Regions from separate parts of the Homo sapiens genome. Here regions 1, 2 and 4 are each linked to region 3. The links are contacts of gene promoters, found by promoter capture Hi-C in blood cells and fetal thymus (Javierre and others, 2016). All regions are on one chromosome and are shown on one strand. The core of a region is centred on a gene start or on the middle of the fragment in contact, and the rest is flanking DNA. Distances in the headings are between cores, read along the strand shown.

Region 1 (2,860 bases), core at 271-2,770, 330 kb before region 3:
CACAGCTCACTGCGGTCTCAACCTCCCCAACTCAAGCGATACTCCCATCTCAGCCCCACAAGTAGTTGGGACTACAGGCATGCCCCACCAAGCCCAGCTAATTGTTTTTTTCAATCTTTTGTAAAGACAGGGTCAAACTATGTTACCCAAACTTTTAGTAAGTTTCTTAAGCTTTTTAATTCCTTGTTCCCATAAAAAATGCAAAATATGTACTTTTAATGCCATTTGAAATCTCAGAATAAATTCAACATCACAAATAAAAACGAAATGCTGGTTTGTTTTAAAACTAAACCTGTTTCCCTCTTCGAGAATCACTGGTAACTTTATAGGGCCACTTAGACTTCACTGTTATCCAAACCTTTATTAGGCATCTACCACATTCTAGATTCGAAGACTGTAAGATATAAGAAGACTGTAAGACTATAAGATGAACTCCTGCTCGGGGGGGGGGGGGGGGCTCTCTCTCTCTCTCTCTGTATATATACATATATATGTATATATAGAAATATTACATATTTCTATGATCCACTCTTAAGTCTAGAAGTCATGAAATCAAAAGGACTCAAACTAATTTTATATCTTTCCTATTCATTCTTTCTGCCTAATATAATGAGTTAGTGATTGAAGCAAACCACATTTTATTTTATTTTATTTTTTTGAGACGGAGTCTCACTCTGTCTCCCAGGCTGGAGTGCAGTGGCGCGATCTCGGCTCACTGCAAGCTCCGCCTCCCGGGTTTACGCCATTCTCCTGCCTCAGCCTCCCGAGTAGCTGGGACTACAGGCGCCTGCCACCGCGCCCGGCTAATTTTTTGTATTTTTAGTAGAGACGGGGTTTCACCATGTTAGCCAGGATGGTCTCGATCTCCTGACCTCATGATCCGCCCGTCTCAGCCTCCCAAAAGTGCTGGGACTACAGGCGTGAGCCACCGCGCGCAGCCGGAAGCAAATCACATCTTACAACAAGATGCATTGTTTATATATTCTTTTGCTTTCTAGAGTCTAATAAAATCCTTATTTTATGTAATATGAATCCCAGTAGAATAAAATTCTATATGTGAACAAAATACAGATTCAAGCTATTACCAAAGCTATTCTCAAACAAGTTCTACCCCTTTACTAGGAACAAACTGAATTCTAGCTCGACAATCACTTTCCACTCCCAGAATTCTAAAGGGATTAAAATTAGCCCAATTCGCTGGGTGCGGTGGCTCACGCCTGTAATCCCAGCACTTTGGGAGGCTGAGACAGGCAGATCACCTGAGGTACGGAGTTCGAGATCAGCCTGACCAATATGGTGAAACCACATCTCTACAAAAAATACAAAAATTAGCCAGCTATGGTGGCACATGACTGTAATTCCAGCTACTAGGGAGGCTGAGGCATGAGAATCACTTGAACCCAGGAGGCGGAGGTTGCAGTGAGCCGAGATTGCCTTATTGCACTCCAGCCTGAGCTACAAGAGCAAAACTCCTTATCAAAAAAAAAATTAGCCCAATTCTTGATTACTTCTTTGGTTTCCCAGTGGCATAATTGATAACATATGCACTGCTACGAGAAAACTACTGGCTGACTATGATGATCCAGGCCTACTCTGAAAACACGGCCATCTCTTTTTTGTTTTTCTTCTTTAAAGTTTCTAAGTTTTTTCCCATTTCTCAAACAAAAAGGATAAATTTCTAACTTTCAAAAATCATATGCTAACAATTCTATTTTTTAATAATAAAAATAAAGAGGCTCTATTTCCTAAACCACAGGGGGCACTATTTGCAAAGCCACTCTACAGATTTCAAAAAAAAAAAAAAAAAAAAAAAATGCCAGGGATAGGGAGGGTCCACATATCCTGTTATTAACAGAATGAGCTCCAAAAACTTGATTACTCTGAAGTTATTATAAAAGTCGTTTTGTAAAAAATGAGAAAGGCACTAAACAAAACCTTATCCAATCTAAGCAGGTCTGTATTGGTCTCCATCATTCAAAACCCCAATGTGGTATCAACCGAATAAATGGAATGGGCACTATCTCCAATCAATGTATCTTTTTGGGTAACAAGTCGAAAATAATGAAATAATTCAGAAAATGCTTCTATAATAAAAAAACTGTTTCACACTTTCTTCTTGCACACTTCATTTTAGTAAGCAAATATCCAACTACTGTAATTACTGTGTAAAAAAAACTATAAATGAGATACATTTGAACCCAACATTCAGTTATCTTGTTTGTCTCAGAAATATAATTCTAGATAAGAAAATGAGGAAAGGAGGACTCCTCAAATACATAATATTTCAATAGTAGTTTGAAATACCATCCTACATTTCTGCAGTAAAGGCTCTTAACTTCCAAAATGCTCATTCTCTTGTTTGATGAATTATATTAACAGTTTATGTGCAAATTGTATCTGTTTAAAGGTTAAGCCATCTTTAAAAGAAAATCCAAATATTCTAAAATATAGTTTAGTGTTATTTTTCAAAAATCTATTCAGTTAAAAAAAGAAAAATTTAATTGAGTGCCTTTGACATGCCAGGCTTTGAACTCGGTTCCAAAAAAATAGAAAAAATACTCTGTAAACTAGTGGGAACAGTTACTAATTTTAGAAAGTTAGACAAAAGTATTCATAATGGTCCCTCATATGAGCACAAATACTTCATCTGACTCTCAACTTATCCCCACTTGATCAAAAATTTTGCTAATTGCAAAATATAATCTGTATCACTGGGGTAGCAAATCACCATCAAATCCACCACAATTATTACTAGATCACATTCTGTCCCAACACAACTCTTTGTAGTTGCCCATTCTACTGTTCCTTATCTCAATTAGGTTTATACTGACAAATACGCTGCCTAATACAAGTATAATTA
Region 2 (2,831 bases), core at 299-2,798, 290 kb after region 3:
AACCTTTACACAATTGTTCATAGCAGTTTTATTTTTAATAGCCCCAAACTAGAAAAAAAGAAAAAAAAAGTTCTTCAGTGGGTGACTGATTAAACAAACTGTGGTACATCCATACCATGGAATATCACTGAGCAATAAAAAAACAAACTATTGATACATGCAACAGCTTGGGTGCACTTCCAGCATTATGCTAGGTGAAACAAACCAATCACACAAGGTCACATACTGGATGATTCAATTTACATGACATCTTCAAGATAACAACATTGTAGAGATGGAGAATAGCTTAGTGGCTGCCAGGGAATAGGGGTGGTGGAGGGAAGGGGGCTGTAACTGTGAAGGGGTAGCATGAGGGAGATGTTCGTGGTGATGAAATAGTTTTTTATCTTAATTGAATTCGTGGTTACGTAAATTGACTGGTGTGATCAAATGACAACTACACATGTGTTGTACCAGTGTCAATTGTCTCCTTTTGATATTGTGCTATAATTATGTAAGATGTCCCCTTTAGGGGAGATGAAGTGAAGGGTACATGGAACTTCTCTGTACTATGTTTCCAACTTCCTATGAATCTATAGTTATTTCAAAATAATAAGTTGAAAAAAGTAGCCTTATTGACTTTTCTCTCCCTCCTTACTCTGTCTTCCCCAGTCCATCTTGTCACTCCGTCAGACACCAGGTAATATGAGACTCTGTTCTTTCCTTCTTTTACCCCTATCCCCATCATCTAAGCAGTCTTGAAGTCCTGTCCATTTCATCCCTGTGTGGCATCTCTCCAGTCTGACTGCCCCTCCCCACCTTCTTTGCTCTGGGTCAGACCCCCTAGTCTGACCTTCTGCAATAGCTCCCTGCTGGTCTCCTATCTTTCACCTATCTTGTACAATGCTGGTGACCTCTTTAAAATAGAAATCATATCCTATTACTTCTCTGCCCAAGAACAGTTGGTTGTTCCTTGACACCTGTGGTTTCGAATCACCTCCTTGCTGCGGCGGACAAGAGACTTCATTCAGTTCCTGTTCTGCATTCCTCTTATAAGCAATAGATCTGGATGTACTGGAGGCTCATGTTCCCGTTTTTGGTAGATGAGTAGAAAGTTGGCTCAGCAAGTTAGAGTTAGCCCACTAGAACAGGTGGATGCCAGTTTCTGGGCTGCAGAGACCCGACCCTCCCTTTCTATCAAGCTACTTCTGTGACCACGGGACATCCAAGTGCATAGATGTTCCCTGTTCCCTACAGGATTGTAGGGCAGGGTCCCTTTCTACTGCACTGTTAGCCATGGACATGTGGCCCATCTACACAGGGCCGAAACTGTGGGATAATGAGAGTTCAGGGGATTGCGGACACTCTGCTCCTTCTCTGCTTGTAAGCTTTCCTTTTATCACCTTTATTTTTTACCTTCCCTATGTGACACTAGGCATATATGCCCAGGACACCTCTGCCTGACACTTCCTCACCAGACTCACCTGCTGATACTCAGTGAGCCTGTGGTATCCCATAATGATCTGTGGTTTTCAGAAAATGTCCCTTCTCTGCTAGATCATGTGCTATTTAGTTTTCGATTACTTACACCTTCCTGGATCCTGGCTGTGTCCCTCCAAGCAGAAACAGAGCTACTGTGTTTCATTTTACTTAGCGCCCCTTCATTCTTCTATCATGGGACATCTAACATTGTTTTAAAATCCAGCTGTGAGGTTTGCTTCCCTTTCACCTCCCCAGACTGTGAAGCTTTTTGAAAGATGGGATACCTTGTCTTTTAGCTTTGTATTCCTGAAGCTTGCGAGAACCTCGCACAGGGTTGGTATTTAGTACACATATGTTAAACGAGCAAATTTTGACATGCATGAGAGCATTTTATGAACAGTAAATGCTATACCAGCCTTAGTTATGATGACAATATCTTAATGAAGCCAGCAGAATAAATCATAATGGTTGGAACCGGAGCTGTCAATATAGCAAAATCAGTTACCAATTTTAAAAACATCAGCCCCTTGACACACACACAGATATACACACAGACACATCCTCCATAGTGCATAGTGTGTAGTCAGCTTTCATACTTGGCCTAATACACTGCAAAGATTAAAGGTCTTTTTCCCTTTTCTTCGCAGACATTCATGGTGGGGGCTTGTTCCTCACAATCCACACATTACGCTTCACATTCGCGTCATTCGAATACAAGATAGCTGTTACAGGACGTGGTGTGGTGCTTGGTGTGGTGGTTGACAGAGTTAAATAAATATTTTTTAGAGGGGAAAATACTTTTTTATGTGCAAAAACAACTGAATTTCGGCCACCAAATCATTTCCTCCAGCTCAACACCAGCCACCAGAATAAAGACAGGTCATTCCTCACATTGATTGATCTGAGGCTCAGAGCTCTGTCTCCCTTTCCTAGTGGGAGAGGTTGTGGGAGAAGTTGAACATGGCTGGGTTCTCTGACTCAGATGCATTGCTTTTATGGTAGCATTTTGCCCTAAAGGGGCTTTCTGTAAATTTGAGCTTAAGTATGTACTACTAGAGGCCTAAAGAAGGCTAAGTGGTAGCTACTCTATTTTTCAAAAGAATATTAATAGCTAAATGTAAAGTTAAAAACTGACTTTGGGCCGGGCGCGGTGGCTCACGCCTGTAATCCCAGCACTTTGGGAGGCCGAGGCGGGTGGATCATGAGGTCAGGAGATCGAGACCATCCTGGCTAACAAGGTGAAACCCCGTCTCTACTAAAAATACAAAAAAAATTATCCGGGCGCGGTGGCGGGCGCCTGTAGTCCCAGCTACTCGGGAGGCTGAGGCAGGAGAATGGCGTGAACCCGGGAAGCGGAGCTTGCAGTGAGC
Region 3 (3,104 bases), core at 285-2,784:
CCATGTTGGCCAGGCTGGTCTCGAACCCCTGACCTCAGGTGATCCACCCACCTCGGCCTCCCAAAGTGCTGGGATTACAGGTGTGAGCCACCGCACTCGGGCATCATCTCCATTTTAAAAAACATTCATCAAATCAGGATCCAACCAACGTCCACACCTTGTATTGCCACCGAATTTCTCTTAAATCGTTTTGAAACTGCACACAGGTCCTCCTCCCTGCAATTCGCATAGCAACCAAGCTGATCCTCACTGACAATTTCCAAATAACTATAATAACTCTATTCTGGAGATATCACAAGTGCCGGTCTTAGAGCTTGTCAAATGTATACATATATGTTTATATTTATATATAAATGCACAAAAGCACACAAGAAACCATTTCACTCGAAGCAATAACAATCCTGAGAGCTAAACACTCGTTCATGTCTTTTGTGATGCTTCTCGGTGGGGGTTATCTCTGGGATTTAAGCGACACTTCCCCTTACCGGAGACATTTGCGCAAGTGTAGGACGAAGCGAGAGCGGTTCCTTCCAGCCGAACCTGCCTCCGGAGGCCCGGTCCGTGCGTTCGTCTCCGGACTGCAGGGGGCGGCCCTGCCACCACCTCGAGGCCACCTGCGCAGGTGAGAAAAGGAGTTTCAGTCTCCGGGTTCCTGGGGGTGGTCGCAGGTAATCTAGAGGGAATTTTGAGCCAGCCAGGATGGTCATCCAGGAACCTACCCGGACGCAACGGCCTCGGAAAACAAATAGCCGGGCAAGGCCCTGGGGCTTAATCCCAGTGGCGGGCGCGGGCGGGGGCGCCGTCCCCAACGCTCGAGGCCAGGGGAGGGGAGGCAAAGTCGGCCCCAATGAATGCACGCACGCGCGCGCGCGCGCGTGTGTGTGAGACTATTCACCTCTGGGCGCCAGGAAAGAGCGAAGAGTTGCATACACCCATTTCTATAACCTTGCTGGGTTTGTCATGTTTAAAAAGCATCTCCCCTGGAGAGAGGGTGGCGAGTCTCTGGGTGCGGGACACGCCCATTCCCCAGACCCCCTGCCCTCAAACCCACGACAGACCCCAGTTGCTAAGGCTCCGCGGTAATCCCCATCCCGAAGCAGGAAGGCTCGGGCGTCCGGGCTCCACTCCTGGATCTCTTAAGTAGCAGAGAACCCCCAGCCCCTGAGTTCCTGCAAAGGAAATTCCTTCCCCTCCCAGGCGCGCTGAACGCCCGGCCAGGGAGGCTGGGAGCGGCGCGGGGACCGTTCGCCGCCCCGAGGCTGGGACGCCGGTGGCGAGAGCGCCGGGCGCCCTCCACCTGCGCCCGCACTCACCCGAGGATCGATGGCTGTCGGCTCCGCAAGGTTGAGGCCCCGACACCTGCAGCGCCCGTGCCCAGGTGACCGCCCGAGGGAGGGGCGAGGGCCCAGCTCGCCCGCCTGGTCCCGCCCCGCCCCGCCCCGCCCCGCGCGCTCCCGGGAGGGGCAGGGGAGCACGGCCCCGGGACCCCGCGGCGACCCTGCTGTGGCTCAGCCGGCTCCAGACCAGGAAATGCGGGCGTCAGAGACGGGCAACCTTTGAGCGCGCACGTCCCGTCCGGGCCCAACGAAACAAGGGCCGGAGGGCGCCGCCTGCCGGCGGGACGGAAAGATATCACAGAGACTGTCACCCCCCGCCGGCTAGGAGAGGGCTGAGTTGAGGCTGGCAGAGGGACGCAGCCAGGGGTGCGCAGTGCGGGAGCCGCTTGGGGGCTCAGTGAGACCCCCTTCCTCATGCCACATCTTGAGGACCCGGCCCCTGTCCTAGGAGCTCCCCATCTCCCCAGCAGGCGGGCGAGCGGGGGCCACTGGGTCAGGGCCTCTCCTTCCCTTACCTCTGCAAATGTAAACTTGGCAGTTGTCTCCAGATAAGAGTTTACACAGGGTGGCCAGGCGGTGGCTCATGCCTGTAATCCTAGCACTTTGGGAGGTCAAGGTGGGCGGATCACTTGAGGTCAGGAGTTTGAGACCAGCCTGGCCAACATGGTCCACGTTGGTCCCCATGTCTACTAAAAATACAAAAATTAGCCGGGCTTGGTGGCACGCACCTGTAATCCCAGCTATTTGGGAAGCTGAGGCACGAGAATCGCTTGAACCCAGGAGGCGGAGGTTGCAGTGAGCTAAGACCGCACCACTGCACTCCAGCCTGGGCAGCAACAGCAAGACTCCGTATCAAAAAAAAAAAAAAAAAAAAAAAAAAAAAAAAAAAAGAGTATACACAGGGTGACAGAACTTCTTGAAACTTGTATGCTTCTAAGCAACCGCCTGCAGTGTACTGTGAATTCAGATTTTTAAATAAAAATCTGCAAATATTAAATAGCCCATATATTGCATTGCCTTTTTTGTGTCAACAGTGCTAATTTGTTGTCATTCAACAAATATTTGTTGAGCACCTACGACTTGCCGGTCATTTAAACATTTAAAATATCGAACAATTAGGCCAGCGCAGTGGCTCAAGCCTGTAATCCCAGCACTTTGGGAGGCCGAGGCGGGTGGATCACTTGAGGTCACGAGTTCAAGACCAGCCTGGCCAACATGGTGAAACCCTGCCTCTACTAAAAATACAAAAATTAGTTGGGCGTAATGGCACATGCCTGTAGTCCCAGCTACTTGGGAGGCTGAGGCAGGAGAATGACTTGAACCCAGGAGGCAGAGGTTGCAGTGAACCAAGATCACGCCATTACACTCCAGCCTGGGCAACAGAGACAGACTTCATCTGAAACAAATAAAATAAAATAAAATATTGCACAATTTCTTCCTTCTCCTCTTCACGCAGAGCCTTGAACAAGGGGAGTGTCCTGAGCCTCTCAACCTCTCTGAGTGTCATAGCAGTTAGAGATTAAAGATGACCATGTCCATACACGTTTGTATCTCTCCACAATGTCAGTCTTTTTTTTTTTTTAAATGCTATTTCAATCACAAAATCCAGGAGCTACATGGAGTTCCCAAGGAGGCAATTCTCCTTAGTCCTTCCCATTCACTCTGTAGTCAGAGCACATAGGTTCAAGCCACTCCATAAGTCAGTAAATATTGCAAACCATACATACTAGTATACTTAATCACTATACGAATGTTGTAGATTAAACA
Region 4 (2,880 bases), core at 49-2,548, 350 kb before region 3:
TTTTTTTTTTTAGTAGAGACGGGGTTTCACCGTTTTAGCCGGGATGGTCTCGATCTCCTGACCTCGTGATCCGCCCGCCTCGGCCTCCCAAAGTGCTGGGATTACAGGCGTGAGCCACCGCGCCCGGCCTATAGCAGCATTATTCTTAATTGCCAAAAAGTAGACCCAATGCAAATGTCCGACTGACGAAGGAATAAAAAAAATGTGGTATATTCACATAATGGAATCTTATCAGGCCATAAAAAGAAGTACTGGTACATGCAACAACATGGACTGTGAAAACATTATCTTTCATGAAAGAAGCATAAGCTTCTTGACCAGACATGAAAAGCCACATATTGTACAATTCCTTTTATATGAAATGTCCAGAATAAGCAAATCCATAAAGATAGAAAATAGATTAGTGGTTGCCAGAGGCTTCGAGAAAGGGAGAATCAGGGAGTGACTCCTAATGGATTATAGGGTTAATTTTTGGAGTGATGAAAACATTATGGGCCGAGGCGGGTGGATCACCTAAGGTCAGGAGTTCAAGATCAGCCTGACTAACATGGCGAAAACCCTGTCTCTTACTAATAATACAAAAAAATTAGCCAGGCGTGGTGACACACGCCTGTAATCCCAGCTACTCAGGAGGCTGAGGCAGGAGAATCGCTTGAACCCGGGAGGCAGAGCTTGCAGTGAGCCGAAATCACCCCACTGCACTCTAGCCTGGGCGACAAGAGTGAAACTCCATCTTAAAAAAAAAGAAAGAAAAGAAAACATTATGGAACTAAATTAGCTGTGATGGTTGCACAACTTTGTGAATGTATTAAAAACCACTGAATTGTAGGCTTTAAAAGGGTAAATTTTATGGTATATAAATTATCTCAATAATTTTTTAGAAGTCATTAGAATTAATTTAAGAAATAAAATACAATGTAAATATGGCATAATAGTCATTACTAATTTTTGTTTACCATATTTAAATCTGAAGAAAACTGAGTTTTAAAAATCTCAAAATTGGCCAGGCATGGTGGCTCACATCTGTAATCCCAATGCTTTAGGAGGCCAAGGCAGGAGGATCACTTGAGGCTAAGAGCTTAATGCCAGCCTGGGCAATACAGTGAGACCCTGTCTCTACAAAAAAAATGAAAAAATGAGGCAGGCGCAGTGGCACATGCCTGTAGTCCTAGCTACTAGGGAGGCTGAGGTGCAAGGACTATGAGCCCAGCAATTTGAAGCTGCGGTGAGCTATGAATGCATCACTGTACTCCACCAGCCTAGAGCAACAGAGTGAGACTCTGTCTCTAAAAAAGAAAAACGAAACAAAAAACCCTCAAAATAAATGTATAGAAAACCCCTGGCCGGGCGCGATGGCTCACGCCTGTAATCCCAGCACTTTGGGAGGCCGAGGCAGGCGGATCACCTGAGGTCAGGAGTTCGAGACCAGACTGACCAACATGGAAAAACCCCGTGTCTACTAAAAATACAAAATTAGCCGGGCGTGGTGGTGCATGCCTATAATCCCAGCTGCTCAGGAGGCTGAGGCAGGAGAATCACTTGAACCTGGGAGGCGGAGATTGCAGTGAGCCGAGATCACACCGTTGCACTCTAGCCTGGGCAACAAATACGAAACTCTGTCTCCAAACAAACAAACAAACAAACAAAAAAACCAGAAAACCCCCACCCAAGAATCAGCCAGGCGTGGTGGCTCACGCCTGGAATCCCAGCACTTTGGTTGGGAGGCCGAGGCAGGCGGATCACCTGAGGTCAGGAGTTCAAGACCAGCCTGACCAACATGGAGAAAACCCGTCTCTACTAAAAATACAAAATTAGCGGGGTGTGGTGGTGCATGCCTGTAATCTCAGCTACTCAGGAGGCTGAGGCAGGAGAATCTGGGAGGTGGAGGTTGCGGTGAGCTGAGATCTCACCATTTTACTCCAGCCTGGGCAACAAGAGTGAAACTCCTCAAAAAAAAAAAAGAAAAAAAAGAAAGAAAGAAAGAAAAGAAAACCCCCAAGAATCTCAATTCTCTATAAAAACTTAAATAAATAGAGGACCCTCCAACTGTTCCAATGCAGCTAAAGTAACTGTCACACTGCCTAATCACTAAGCAAAGCTGTGCTGCTATATGGATGGTAACACAGGCAATATCTGCAGACATGTCTCATTTAATCCACAGTATTTTAAAAGGCACGGTAAGTAACCAGCTATTTTTCTTTTAAATGACCAGTCAATATTCCACATTTATGCTATATGCCTGGCCCCCAGAGCTTTCAATCCTTGCTTTATTCCATAACTAAGCTTCCTTGAGTTCTATACCTAACTACTCTTACTTACATAATACTTCTTATTATTAAATGGTGTCTCAGTTCATGGCAAATCAGAAAGAAAAATAAAGGTTGGGTGCGGTGGCTCACAACTGTAATCCCAACACTTTGAGAGGCCAAGGCAGGAGGATCACTTGAGCCCAGGAGTTCGAGACCAGCTTGAGCAACATACCAAGACCATCTCTACAAAAAAAAAAAAAAAAATTTTTTTTTTTAATTAGCCAGGCACAGTGGTGTGCGCCTCTGGTCCCAGCTACTAGGGAGGGTGAGGTGGGAGGATCACTTGAGCCCAAAGGTTGAGGCTGCAGTGACCGCAATCTCACCACTGCACTTCAGCCTAGGCGATAAAGACTCTGTCACAAAAAAAGAAAAAAAAAGGAGGAAAGAAAAACAAGGATCTCCTGAAGACTGACAGCAAATAAAAGGTAGGAAAGGAAAAAAATTCGGACAAAAATAACTTGCAGTCTGAGGCCAGGTAGCCTGTATCTATCTCAGTCTCCTGAGCTATCACCACGCTAGAAAAGTATAGCAACTGAGATTAAAATAAATCACCCAGAGTTTTGAAGGGTAG

The links. The method cuts DNA at HindIII sites, captures the fragments that hold promoters and counts their contacts. A CHiCAGO score of 5 or more calls a contact.
Region 1: a fragment that was not itself captured here is called in contact with the fragment with the promoter of GPR160 in region 3 in 1 of 17 cell types (neutrophils); the score reaches 8.9 in neutrophils.
Region 2: a fragment that was not itself captured here is called in contact with the fragment with the promoter of GPR160 in region 3 in 1 of 17 cell types (naive B cells); the score reaches 5.5 in naive B cells.
Region 4: a contact is called between a fragment that was not itself captured here and the fragment with the promoter of GPR160 in region 3, in 1 of 17 cell types (neutrophils). The highest score is 8.6, in neutrophils.

The regions. Positions count from the first base shown.
Region 1 is chr3:170,368,037-170,370,896 of GRCh38, reverse strand. All of the region lies in intron 2 of SKIL (SKI like proto-oncogene), which reads right to left. Among named protein-coding and RNA genes, the nearest start is that of SKIL, 12 kb to the right of the region's middle. The HindIII fragment of the contact is 2,693 bases long and covers 174-2,860 here.
Region 2 is chr3:169,745,314-169,748,144 of GRCh38, reverse strand. No RefSeq gene overlaps it. Among named protein-coding and RNA genes, the nearest start is that of ACTRT3, 23 kb to the left of the region's middle. The HindIII fragment of the contact is 358 bases long and covers 1,370-1,727 here.
Region 3 is chr3:170,036,425-170,039,528 of GRCh38, reverse strand. It overlaps GPR160 (G protein-coupled receptor 160), which reads right to left and starts at 1,534. Exons shown (of 4, transcript NM_014373.3): 1 at 1,314-1,534; 2 at 486-614. RefSeq lists silencers at 510-559, 720-769, 1,080-1,559 and an enhancer at 155-654. The HindIII fragment of the contact is 12,490 bases long and covers 1-3,104 here.
Region 4 is chr3:170,384,891-170,387,770 of GRCh38, reverse strand. The region is part of intron 4 of SKIL (SKI like proto-oncogene); the gene reads right to left. Among named protein-coding and RNA genes, the nearest start is that of SKIL, 29 kb to the right of the region's middle. The HindIII fragment of the contact is 1,974 bases long and covers 312-2,285 here.